Linked DNA regions of Homo sapiens: region 2 is linked to region 1. Evidence: promoter capture Hi-C in human tissues and cell types (Jung and others, 2019). All regions are on one chromosome and are shown on one strand. Each heading gives the region's core, a stretch centred on a gene start or on the middle of the fragment in contact. The rest is flanking DNA. Distances are from core to core; before and after follow the strand shown. Region 1 holds the start of ZNF132 (zinc finger protein 132). Region 2 overlaps ZNF17 (zinc finger protein 17).

Region 1 (5,896 bases), core at 1,031-3,530:
CAGATCTCAAATATCTCTTCCCTCTGATATCTTTGCCTTTGTATGTGTTGTCTCCTCCCCAGTCATAGCTGTCCTTGCTCTTCCTAACACTCAAATCCAAGATCCACTGGCCCCCACCTTGGCTTGGGGACTCAGCTTAGGCTGACCCTTTCTGATCTTGCCACTCCACCAGCCTGACAAAAACCCCAGGACCCTATTTAAGAAGAGATAACATGCCCTGACCACAAGAAGGATGGCCGCAACAATGTAGTGAGCTGTAGAGAAGCAAATCAACCTAAACCAAAGCCCAACTCTCATCCTACTTTTGCCGCTATGCTTCACTGTTGTCCTAGACCTACTCTCTGCTCAGGAGGCTCAGCCACTATCTTGAACCCAACCCACAACTGCATGCAGTGTCCACACACAAGCATCCATCCCTTGGATGTTTCCAGCCTAAACCCGACATAATTTCATAATCACATGTTTAGTGGTCTACTTGGCACCTCAATTTGGTAGTGTCTGGGACATCTCAAATACAACATGGCCAAAATCCAACTCTTTATCTTCCCCCTGAAATCTACTCCTCACACCAACTTCCACATCTGAAAGATCTAAGGTCAATTTTTTTTTTTTTTTTTTTGAGACAGAGTCTCGCTCTGTCACCCAGGTTGGAGTGCAGTGGCGCGATCTTGGCTCACTGCAAGCTCCGCCTCCCGGGTTCAAGCCATTCTCCTGCCTCAGCCTCCCGAGTAGCTGGGACTACAGGCACCCACCACCACGCCTGACTAATTTTTTGTATTTTTAGTAGAGATGGGGTTTCACCGTGTTAGCCAGGATGGTCTCAATCTCCTGACCTAGTGATCCACCTGCCTCGGCCTCCCAAAGTGCTGGGATTACAGGCGTGAGCCACCACGCCCGGCAATTTTTTTTTTTTTTTAAGACAGAGTCTCGCTCTGTCACTCAGGCTGGAGCGCAGTGGCACGATCTCAGCTCAATGCAACCTCCATCTCCCAGATTCAAACAGTTCTTCTGCCTCAGTTTCCCAAGTTGCTGGGATTACAGGTGCACACTACCATGTCCTGGCTAATTTTTCTGTATTTTTAGTAGAGGTGGGGTTTCGCCACGTTGGCCAGGCTGGTCTTGAACTCCTGACCTCAAGTGATCTGGCCGCCTTGGCCTCCCAAAGTGCTGGGATTACAAGTGTGAGCCACTGCACTCAGCCTTAGGTCAATCTTAACATTTCACTTTCTTTCACTGTCCCACATCAGGTAATCCATGGCCCAGTTTGGGCAGATTCAGAAGCCAACCATCTGTCCTACCTCCACGGGCACCCCTCTGTCCAGCTACCCAAAGCACACATCTGGACCACATCTGTCAGCTCCTCACTGGCCTTCCTGCTCCACCATCACCATCCCTCCAGTCTGCTGCCCACTAGGCATCCATAGGGCGTCTGTTAAGACTGGAGTCAGAGCACCTACTTCCTCTACTCCAAACCTTCCATGGCTCCCACCACCATCAGAATAGAGGTCCAGCTCCTCAGGCTGCCATTCCAGGCCTAACTATTGGTTTCCCTTCCCTGTTTCCACCAGACTAAATGGAGACCGGCAGTCCCCAGAATGCTTCCATTTCATCACCACTAAACAAGGTACACATGCTGGTCACTGTCCCTGGGACAGCCTTCCAGATCTCATTCCACAGGATTCCAGAAATGGGAATCCCTCGATATAACCCCTTGCCTGGATTCAGGATGGTAAGGGTAAGTGACTCCCAGGGCAGGGCCCAGGACCCACGTGTGAGGACAGGACACGATCAAGAGTCCCAGGACACCAACATCCCCTCTATCTGGGCTTCAGGATCCTGAGGGCCGGAATCCCAGCGGGTGAGGGCCTGGGGCACACTCCACTTACCTGCGCCGGGCCCATCAGCAACGCTGGCAACCCCATTAGAACCTGTGGGCTGGGCAGGGCCATAACAGGAGGCCCAGGGCTAGCCCTGCCGCTGGGCCGAACCCTCACACTTCCGCTGGGTGACGGTCGCACTCAGGACCTGTCTTCCCAAATGCAAAATGCGCGCAAGGCCTCTGGGCACCGCAGGGACGAAGGCTGGGTATGGAGACCCTGGAGACGCGTGGCGCTGGCTCCACTTTCGGGAACACCTTGGCTCATAAAAGCAGAGTAATTAGCCGGGCACTATGGTGCGTGTGAAGGCGCGGTGACGGTCCCTGCACCCACTCCCGTGCCCTGGTGTGGCTCCAGAGGCCTGCTGTAGCCCAACCCACCAGCAGCAAAATGAGGACCGCAATGGCGGCGCCGGAAGTCCCGCCTCTCAATGACAGCTCGGACTTGCCACTGGTCCGAGCTTTCATTGGCTCAAGGATCCCCGCCGTCTATGACGCTATTTCCCTATGCCCGTCACGCTACTGCTAGGTCGTTGCCAAGGTGATTGAGGAATGGCGTTTATTGCGTCGCTGCTCAGGCAACGCAAACTACATTATCCAGAAGGACCCTCGCGGTGCCTCAGGGCTGGCCATTGGCAGCCGAGGAGACAGGCACTTCCGGGCGGAGTGTAAGACGCTGGCCAATCACAGCCTGGCAGCGGGACTTCCGTCGTCGTCCTCGGACCATCACTTTGGCATTTCTCGATTTTGTCTGCTTCTGAAGGGACCGCGTTGTCAGGCGAGGGACGGAATCTTGGAGGCTCCCTGGGCCCATGGAAACAGGAGCGAGGAAGGCACGAGAGTCGGGGAAGTTCCGCCTTCTTGACATACAAGCGCCCCCACCGCGGCGAATATCGCCCCTGAGCCCAGTGTTCGCCCCCCACAACACCGCACCCCCCTTCCCCACCCTGTGCCTTAGATAAAGCCGGCCCAGTGGGACCCTCAGGTTGCACCGCGCGGAGGTGTCCGCGGCTCTCGGGAGTCGTCGCCCTTGGCGTTATGTTGGCTTTAGGGAGCGCGAGGCCGAGGCCAAGAAAAGCTACGCATTGGGAGGTCTTGACCCAGTGTGCGCCCGGCTGTAGGCATGGAACGTGCGCCAAAGGTCTCCTGGCACCCACTCCGCTGGACTCAGCACCATTGTCCTAAGTCTCCGATTGAGAAGTATCTGCCCCAGGTCCTCTGCGGGCCCCACTGAACAGTGTGGAGCGTTCACAGGTTGGGGGTCACCATTTCAGAATCCAGTTTGTTGAGACGTGGAGGGTACAGGAGGAGGGATCTGCATATGCGAAGACTTGGACTTGACCCTGACCTGAGCGTTCAGGCAGGCTCTCATGCCCCCTTGGCAGCGAGTGGAGAGCGTAAGAGGAGTCCTGCCTCTCCTGGCACACCGAGGGCGCCTGGGAGCCATGAAAGGTGTTGAACAGAAAAGGGATGGACATGACCTGAGTTAGAATTTGGAAAGTATTTCAGTGGTTGCTGAATGAACACACTACTGGAGAAGGTGGTTGTAGTGGGGCTGGAAGCAGGGAGACTGTGGGGGAGGTTATTGCAGTATTGTTCCAGACAGTTATGATAGTGGCCTGTCCAGAACGGAAGCAAGAAGGATGGGAGAAGTGATCAGATTCCCAGTGGATCTTCAAGATAGAGCTAATGGAATTTTTTGCTACCTTAGATAAGTGGAATAAGCATGAGTAGGGGTGAAGGACCATCCCAAGTAGTTAGGAAGAATTAGGATGCCTCCTGTGGAGAATAGAGGTTGGCAGTTGGCAGGAGGAGGATGTTTCATGGAAGATTAGCGATGGATTTTGTAGGTATAGAGTCTGAATTGTCTGGAGACCTGTGAGTGGAGGTGTCAAATGGGCCTCTGGATATATAGAATTCTGGTGTGGCTTCAGGACGTCCAGACTGCATTATGTTGGTGGCCTGGCCCAGTGAACGGCCTGAGGATAGGATTTGGGAAGGAGGGTTTTAGGTTGGAGGACCAGTGGCTAGGGCTCACGCTCAGTGCTTAGATCACATCTGTCTGCCCATTGGCTTGGTGTTGCAGGGCTTAATGACCTTTGAGGACAGGGTCAGTACATCTTCCAAGAATGTGGGGCTCCTTAGTGAGGTCCAAGGGGGCTTCTACAGTGACATGATACTACAGAGCTTTGTACTCCAGTGCCCACTAGGTAAGGCTACTGTGTCTCCTCTTTCCCCTACACATGAAATCTAGGTTTTCCTCCGCCTTTCCATTGTTCCCTCTGGGAGGTGCTGCTGGCCCTGGCACTGGCCAGTGTCCTGCTGTGTCCGGAATTGTTTCCTTCCTCTGGGTTCTTGGTCTCGCTGACTTCAAGAATAAAGCCGCGGACCCTCGTGTTGAGTGTTACAGTTCTTTTTTTTTTTTTTTTTTGAGACGGAGTCTCGCTCTGTCGCCCAGGCCGGACTGCGGACTGCAGTGGCGCAATCTCGGCTCACTGCAAGCTCCGCTTCCCGGGTTCACGCCATTCTCCTGCCTCAGCCTCCCGAGCAGCTGGGACTACAGGCGCCCGCCACCGCACCCGGCTAATTTTTTTTTTTTGTATTTTTAGTAGAGACGGGGTTTCACCTTGTTAGCCAGGATGGTCTCGATCTCCTGACCTCATGATCCACCCGCCTCGGCCTCCCAAAGTGCTGGGATTACAGGCGTGAGCCACCGCGCCCGGCCCTGTTACAGTTCTTAAAGATGGTGTGTCCGGAGTTTGTTCCTTCAGATGTTCAGATGTGTCTGGAGTTTTTTCCTTCTGGTGGGTTCGTGGTCTTGCTGACTTCAGGAGTGAAGCTGCAGACCTTCGCAGTGAGTGTTACAGCTCTTAAAGGTGGCACATCCAGAGTTGTTCATTCCTCCTGGTGGGTTCGTGGTCTCGCTGACCTCAGGAGTGAAGCTGCAGACCTTTGCAATGAGTGTTACAGCTCGTAAAGGTGGCGTGTCCAATGTTGTTTGTTCCTCCCAGTGGGTTTGTGGTCTCGCTGGCTTCAGGAGTGAAGCTGCAGACCTTTGTGGTGAGTGTTATAGCTCATAAAGGTAGTGTGGACCCAAAGAGTGAGCAGCAGCAAGATTTATTGCGAAGAGCAAAAGAATAAAGCTTCTACAGCATGGAAGAGGACCCGCGGGTTGCCGCTGCTGGCTTGGGTGGCCAGCTTTTATTCTATTTGGCCCTGCCCACATCCTGCTGATTGGTCCATTATACAGAGCACTGATTGGTCCATTTTACAGAGCACTGATTGGTCCATTTTACAGAGCACTGATTGGTCCATTTTTACAGAGTGCTGATTGGTGAGTTTACAAACCTATAGCTAGACACAGAGTGCTGATTGGTGCATTTACAATCCTTTAGCTAGACAGAAAAGTTTTCCAAGTCCCCAGCCAATTAGCTAGACACAGAGCGCTGATTGGTGCGTTTACTAACCTTTAGGGAGACACAGAGCGCTGATTGGTGCATTTTTACAGAGTGCTGATTGGTGCGTTTACAAACCTTTAGCTAGACACAGAGCGCTGATTGGTGTGTTGGCAGTCCTTTAGCCGGACAGAAAAGTTCCCCAAGTCCCCACTGGACCCAGAAGCCCAGCCGGCTTCACTTTTCACTGCTACTTATCCCTGGCTGCTGCATAAACAACCCCCACACCTTCCCTGGGATCTTGACAACCTTGTGAAGCCACAGTGATGGTCCCTGCACCCACTCCCACGCCCTTGTCCAGCTCTAGAGGCCTCCTGTAGCCCAACCCACAAGCCACAAAATGAGGACCATCATGGCGGTGCCGGAAATCTCACCCCTCAATGCCCACCTGGAATCGGAAGTCTCAAAACCTGTGTAGCATATCACATGCAGCTGGGTCGTTTCCTGGCTAGGTTACCCTGTCAGGATCTGTGACTTTTCTGTCCTTTCTGCCACATTCCCTCACTCTAGTAGGAGTTTTCTGCCAGCTGTCCCTTGTGAGTCCCAGTGGGCACTGACATGGTCA
Region 2 (5,896 bases), core at 1,659-4,158, 1.0 Mb before region 1:
TTTTAAAACCTTATTCCTCACTCCATCCAGCCTCTTGACAAGCACCGCTCTGTATGAATTTTACTAGTCCGGGTACCTCATATAAGAAAACTTAAGTTTTGGTCTTCTTGTGGTTTATTTTGTGGCTTATTTTGCTTAACGTTATATTTTTAAGGTTTCATGTTCTAATCCATTAGAATTTCCATCCTTTTTAAAGGCTGAATAAAATTCTGTTAGTCATGTGTTGCTTAACAGTGGGGAAGTGTCCTGAGAAAAGTGTTATTAGGTGATTTTCTTTCTTTTTTTGGTGGTGGGGGGGTTGCGTGAATGCCTAGGCTGTATGGTATATCCTATAGCACCTTGCTACAAACTTGTATAGCATATTACTGTACTGAATACTGTAGGCTGTTGGAACACATGGTAAGTAATTGTTTTTAAGTATATCTAAACAGAAAAGGTACAGTAAAAATACAGTATAAAAGAAAAAATGATAGACTCACAGAGAACTTACCATGAATGAAGCTTACAGTACTGCAAGTTGCTCTAGGTGAGTCAGTGAGTGGTAAGTGAATGTGAAGGCCTAGGTTGTTACTGTGCTGTAGACTTTATAGACATTGTGTACTTAGACGACAATACATTTTTATTTTTATTATTATTTTTGAGACAGAATCTTGCTCTGTTGCCCAGACTAGAGTGCAGTGGTGCAATCTTGGCTTCCTGCAACCTCCTCCACCTCCTGGTTCAAGCAGTTCTGCCTCAGCTTCCCAAGTGTCTGGGATTACAGGCATGCACCACCATGCCCCGCTAATTTTTGTATTTTTAGTAGAGAACGGGGTCTTACCATGTTGGCCAGGCTGGTCTCAAACTCCCGACCTCAAGTGAGCCACTCGCTTTGGCCTCCCAAAGTGCTGGGATTACAGGCATGAGCCACCGTGCCCGGCTGGACAAAATTAAATTTATAGAAATTTTTCTTTAATATATTAACCTTAGCTGACCATTTTTTACTTTATAAGCTTGTATTTTTAAAAACTTTTTGACTTTTGTAATAATGTTTTGCTTAAAACATTGTACAACTGTACAAAAATATTTTTTATATCCTAACTTCTTAAATTTTTTTTGTTAAAAACTAAGATACACACATTTGTCTAGGCCGGCACAGGATCAGGATAATGTCATTTTATTCCACCTTCACAACCTGTTCCAGAAGATCTTCTGGGACAGTAACACACATGGAGCTGTCATCTAAAATAACAATGCCTTTTTCTGGAATACCTCCTGAAGGACCTGCCCGAGGCTGTGTTACAGTTTGTGTGTATGTACACCTGTATATTTATAGACATACACACAACTCCATATATACTCTACTGTTGGAGAACACCTAATGATAAAAAGTGTAGTATGCTAAGAACATAAGCTAGTAACTCGTAAGTTTTATCTACTGTACATTATTGTATATGTTATACTTCTATATGACTGGCCTCACAGTAGGTTTGTTTATACCAGCATCACCATGAATATGTGATTAATATATTGCCTTACTACTGCTATCATGTCATTAGGCAATAAGCATTTTTCAGCTTCATTGTAATTTTATGGAACCACTGTCATGAATGTGGCCCATTGTTGACTGAAAAGTGAGGTGCATGATTATATATGTATGTGCCACTTTTCCTTTCATTAGTGGACATTTGGGTTGTTTCCACTCAGCTGTTGTTAATAGCAGATGAGCATGAATGTACAAATGTTTCTTTGAGGCTGTGCTTTAAATTCCTTTTGAGGATTTACTCAGAAGTAGAATTGGTGCTTTCTATGTTTTTTTTTTGTTTGTTTGTTTGTTTGTTTGTTTTTTGAGACGGGAGTCTCGCTCTGTCGCCAGGCTGGAGTACAGTGGCCTGATCTCAGCTCACTGCAGCCTCTGCCTCCGGGGTTCAAGCAGTTCTCCTGCCTCAGCCTCCCAAGTAGCTGGGACTACAGGCATGCACCACCATGCCCAGATAATTTTTGTATGTTTAGTTGAGACGGGGTTTCACCGTGTTGGCAAGGATGGTCTCAATCTCGACCTCATGATCCACTCACCTGTCCCCCTATGTTCATTTAAAAAATATTTTTAATTTTTTAAATTTCTGACTCACAATGTTCCCATTCTATGTTAATTCTGTTTTAAAATTTTTGAGGACTCTTCTATAGCAGCTGCATCATTTTTTAATTTAACTTTATTATTAATTTTTTTTTTTAGTAGTTTTACTGGGTTGAGTTTTTTTTTTTTCTTTAGGGTTATTTGGTTTTGAGATGTAGGAGTTTTTTAGTATATGTGGGGACTTCAGAAAGTTTGTGGAAACATGAAAGTAAAGGATACAAAAAGAAAACAAGTTTTATTTCTCAACATAAGCTCCATCAAGTTCAAGACAATTTTATAAGTGATGATACCAGGCATTTAGTCCATCCCTAAAGAAGTGAGGTTCCTGGGAATTTAACCTTGTCTATGCAATCTTTTTTAATATTAACTAAAGAAAAATGGGTGCCCTTTAAAGATTTTTTAAAAGTAGGAAACAAGAAGTCAGAAGGAGCCAAATCCGGACTGTAAGGTGGATGCCTTAGGGTTATCAGAATTCTTGTAAAGTTGCAGTTATTTGATGAGAGGAATGAGCAGGAGCATTGAAGTGAAGGACTCCTGGTGAAGCTTTCCCATGGGTTTTCTGCTAAAGCTTTAGCTAACTTTCTCAAAACACTCTCATTGCGGGCGCCGTGGCTCACGTCTGTAATCCCAGCAATTTGGGAGGCCGAGTTGGGCGGATCATCTGAGCTCAGGAGTTTGAGACCAGCCTGACCAACATGGAGAAACCCCCCTCTCTACTAAAAAATACAAAAATTAGCCTGGCGAGGTGGTGCATGCCTGTAATCCCAGCTACTCAGGAGGCTGAGGCAGGAGAATCGCTTGAACCCGGGAGGCGGAGGTGGCAGTGAGCCGAGATCACACCATTGCACTCCAGCCTGGGCAACAAGAGTGAAACTCCATCTCAAATAGTAATTAATAATAAAGCCATGTTTCATCTGTACAATTCTTCAAAGAAATGCTTCAGCATCTTGATCCTACTTGTTTAACATTTACATTGAAGGTTCTGCTCTTGTCTGCAGCTGATCTGGATTCAGTGGCTTTGGCACCCATTGAGTGGAAAGTTCGCACAACTTTAATTTTTCAGTCAGAATTGTGTAAGCTGAACCAATTCAGATGTCTGTGGTGTCAGTTACTGTTTCTGCTGTTAATCATCAGTCTTCTTCAATAAGGTCATGAGCAAGATGAATTTCTTCCTCGCAAATTGTTATTAATGGTTTGCCATTGTGGGCTGCGTGGTCAACATCATCTCATCTCTTCTTAAAACGTTATCAGGCCGGGCGCGGTGGCTCACGCCTGTAATCCCAGCACTTTGGGAGGCCGAGGCTGGTGGATCATGAGGTCAGGAGATCGAGACTATCCTGGCTAACACAGTGAAACCCCGTCTCTACTAAAAATACAAAAAATTAGCCGGGCGTGGTGGCGGGCGCCTGTACTCCCAGCTACTCCGGAGGCTGAGGCAGGAGAATGGCGTGAACCCGGGAGGCGGAGGTTGCAGTGAGTGGAGATCGTGCCACTGCACTCCAGCATGGGCGACAGAGTGAGACTCCGTCTAAAAAAAAAGAAAACAGGTTATCAGTTTGTAAACTCTGATTTCTCTGGGTCATTGTGCCCATAAACTTTTCTTTTTCTTTTTTTTGAGACGGAGTCTCACTCTGTCGTCTGGGCTGGAGTGCAGTGGCGCGATCTCAGCTCACTGCAACCTCCGTTTCCTGGGTTCAAGCGATTCTTCTGCTTCAGCCTCCTGTGTAGCTGGGATTACAGGCATGCGCCACCACGCCCGGCTAATTTTTGTATTTTTAGTAGTGATGGGGTTTCACCATATTGGTCAGAATGGTCTTGAACTCCTGACCTTGTGATCCGCCCAAACTCGGCCTCCCAAAGTGCTGGGATTACAGGCGCGAGCCACCGCACCCGGCCGGTTTTACCATTTTTAGAGCCAAGCTTTACTATATATTTGATATTTGTTCTTTCTTCAACCTTAGCTGAATTCACATTCCTCTGATAGAAGGTGTTTTCAAACTGATGCCGTTCTTAGTGCCTCAAACTAGATCCTGTTCATACTTGTTAGAACAAGTTATTACAAATTCACTTTGGTGTAAAAAATTGAAATCCATACATAATTTTTTTTTTTTTTTTTGACAGAGTCTCACTAACGCTAGGTTGGAGTGCAGTGGCATGATCTCGGCTCATTGCAACCTCCGCCTCCTGGGTTCAAGCAATTCTCCTGCCTCAGCCTCTTGAGTAGCTGGGATTACAGGTGCCCACAATCACGCCCAGCTAATTTTTGTATTTTTAGTAGAGATGGGTTTTCACTCTGTTGGCCAGGCTGCTCTCGAACTCCTGACCTCAGGTGATCCACCTGCCTGGGCCTCACAAAGTGCTGTGATTACAGGCTTAAGCCACCACCCCTGGCCAATTTTTTCATAATATACATTTTTTTCTCATTTTTCATGAAACTTTTGAAGACCCCTCATATTCTAGATATTCCTTCTCAGATATGTGGTTTTCAAATACTTTCTCCCATTGAGTCTTTTTCCTTTTCACTCTGTCCATTATGTCCTTTTTTACACAGGAATTTTGAATTTAAATGGAGTCTAATATATCTGTTTTATAAGTCTTTGATGCATTTGAGTTCATTTTAGCAACTTAATTCTTTTGCGTGTGGATATCCAGTTTTTTTTTTTTAACATCAAAAGAATAATGTTTTTGCCTAGCATTAAGGCCCTTGGTAGAGGCTTGTCAGTTACAATTTTGGAGCAGCAGATTAAGTCCACACTCCCAACCATTTTCCTTATCAGGCTCTCAAACTCTGGGCCACAATATGTAAGACCCAATCACCCCAGGATCAGGAATCAGATATCTAGGGACAGCTTCTGTGCCCAGGAGCTTGTAAAATTATTCCATTGGTCAATGCACAGGGGTCCCTGAAAACCTAGCTAACCCCAATTTACATGGCACACACAAGCTGCCCCCTAAGCTCCAGCTTGCTGTTATCTTGGGTTCCCTCATAACTCTTGCAGCCCTGCCTATGTCCTTAGGTTTCAAGCTGTAAGTAGCAAAGTGGTCTACATTTTATGATTATCATTGTGACATGTCCTGACATCAGAAAAACACCTTTGTATGTTATTACTATACAACCAGCAGAATATTATGAGTGCAGCAAATGTTAGAAAGTATTCAGCCTAACTTCACTGAGCAAGAGTAAGTTCATCCTGGAGAAAGTCCTTAGGAATGCAGGCAATATACTTTTTTTCCTTTGTCAACAGGTCAAAAACAGCAAAGCTCTATCGAGCTTGTCTTACTCACCCTATTTTTTTGTTGCTCTGTTTTGTTTTAGGCTTTTAGCCTGAAGCCATGGTTTTGTTTCTGTCTCTAGTGGTAGGTGGACAAGAGGAATGAGATGAGAAAGGAGCTTTACTGGCCCAGCTAGAAACAAACTAAGAACCCATGACTGTATTCTTTCCCTTGGATGACCCTGTGTTAGCTTGTTGAGGGAGATCTCAGCCTGAAATTGAATCTCACATCCAAACATCCACGCAAGGGAGATTTGTTGTAATTGTCAGATATATGGTAAATTTTTGTGAATGATGTTGCACTTTCTGACCCTGCCTGGGGCCTTTCCAGAGTTAAGTTGCTGAAAGTGTGCATTACAGAAGACTCCTGCTATTAGCTGTCATGGTGCCACAATGTGCATCACCTTAGTCACCTTAAATTACTTAGAGAGTGATAAGGTCTGGACTTCTGGTTAAATGTTTTTAAAAAATGGGGGGTGGGGGGGTGGTGCATAGATTGCTGTGTTCT

The links. Contacts are between HindIII fragments. The study calls those that stand out against the background at their distance.
Region 2: a contact is called between a fragment that was not itself captured here and the fragment with the promoter of ZNF132 in region 1, in 1 of the 25 tissues and cell types used here (lymphoblastoid cells).

What each region holds. Positions count from the first base shown.
Region 1 is chr19:58,437,873-58,443,768 of GRCh38, forward strand. ZNF132 (zinc finger protein 132) reads right to left here and starts at 2,281. Exons shown (of 3, transcript NM_003433.4): 1 at 1,887-2,281. The coding sequence starts at 1,949. It overlaps ZNF132-DT (ZNF132 divergent transcript), which reads left to right and starts at 2,576. Exons shown (of 1, transcript NR_186311.1): 1 at 2,576-5,896. It also overlaps a transcript of ZNF324B not described here. RefSeq lists enhancers at 1,947-2,457, 2,690-2,819, 2,969-3,478. The HindIII fragment of the contact is 13,144 bases long and covers 1-5,896 here.
Region 2 is chr19:57,421,704-57,427,599 of GRCh38, forward strand. ZNF17 (zinc finger protein 17) reads left to right here. Exons shown (of 4, transcript NM_001330617.2): 4 at 1-231. Among named protein-coding and RNA genes, the nearest start is that of ZNF749, 11 kb to the right of the region's middle. The HindIII fragment of the contact is 4,324 bases long and covers 747-5,070 here.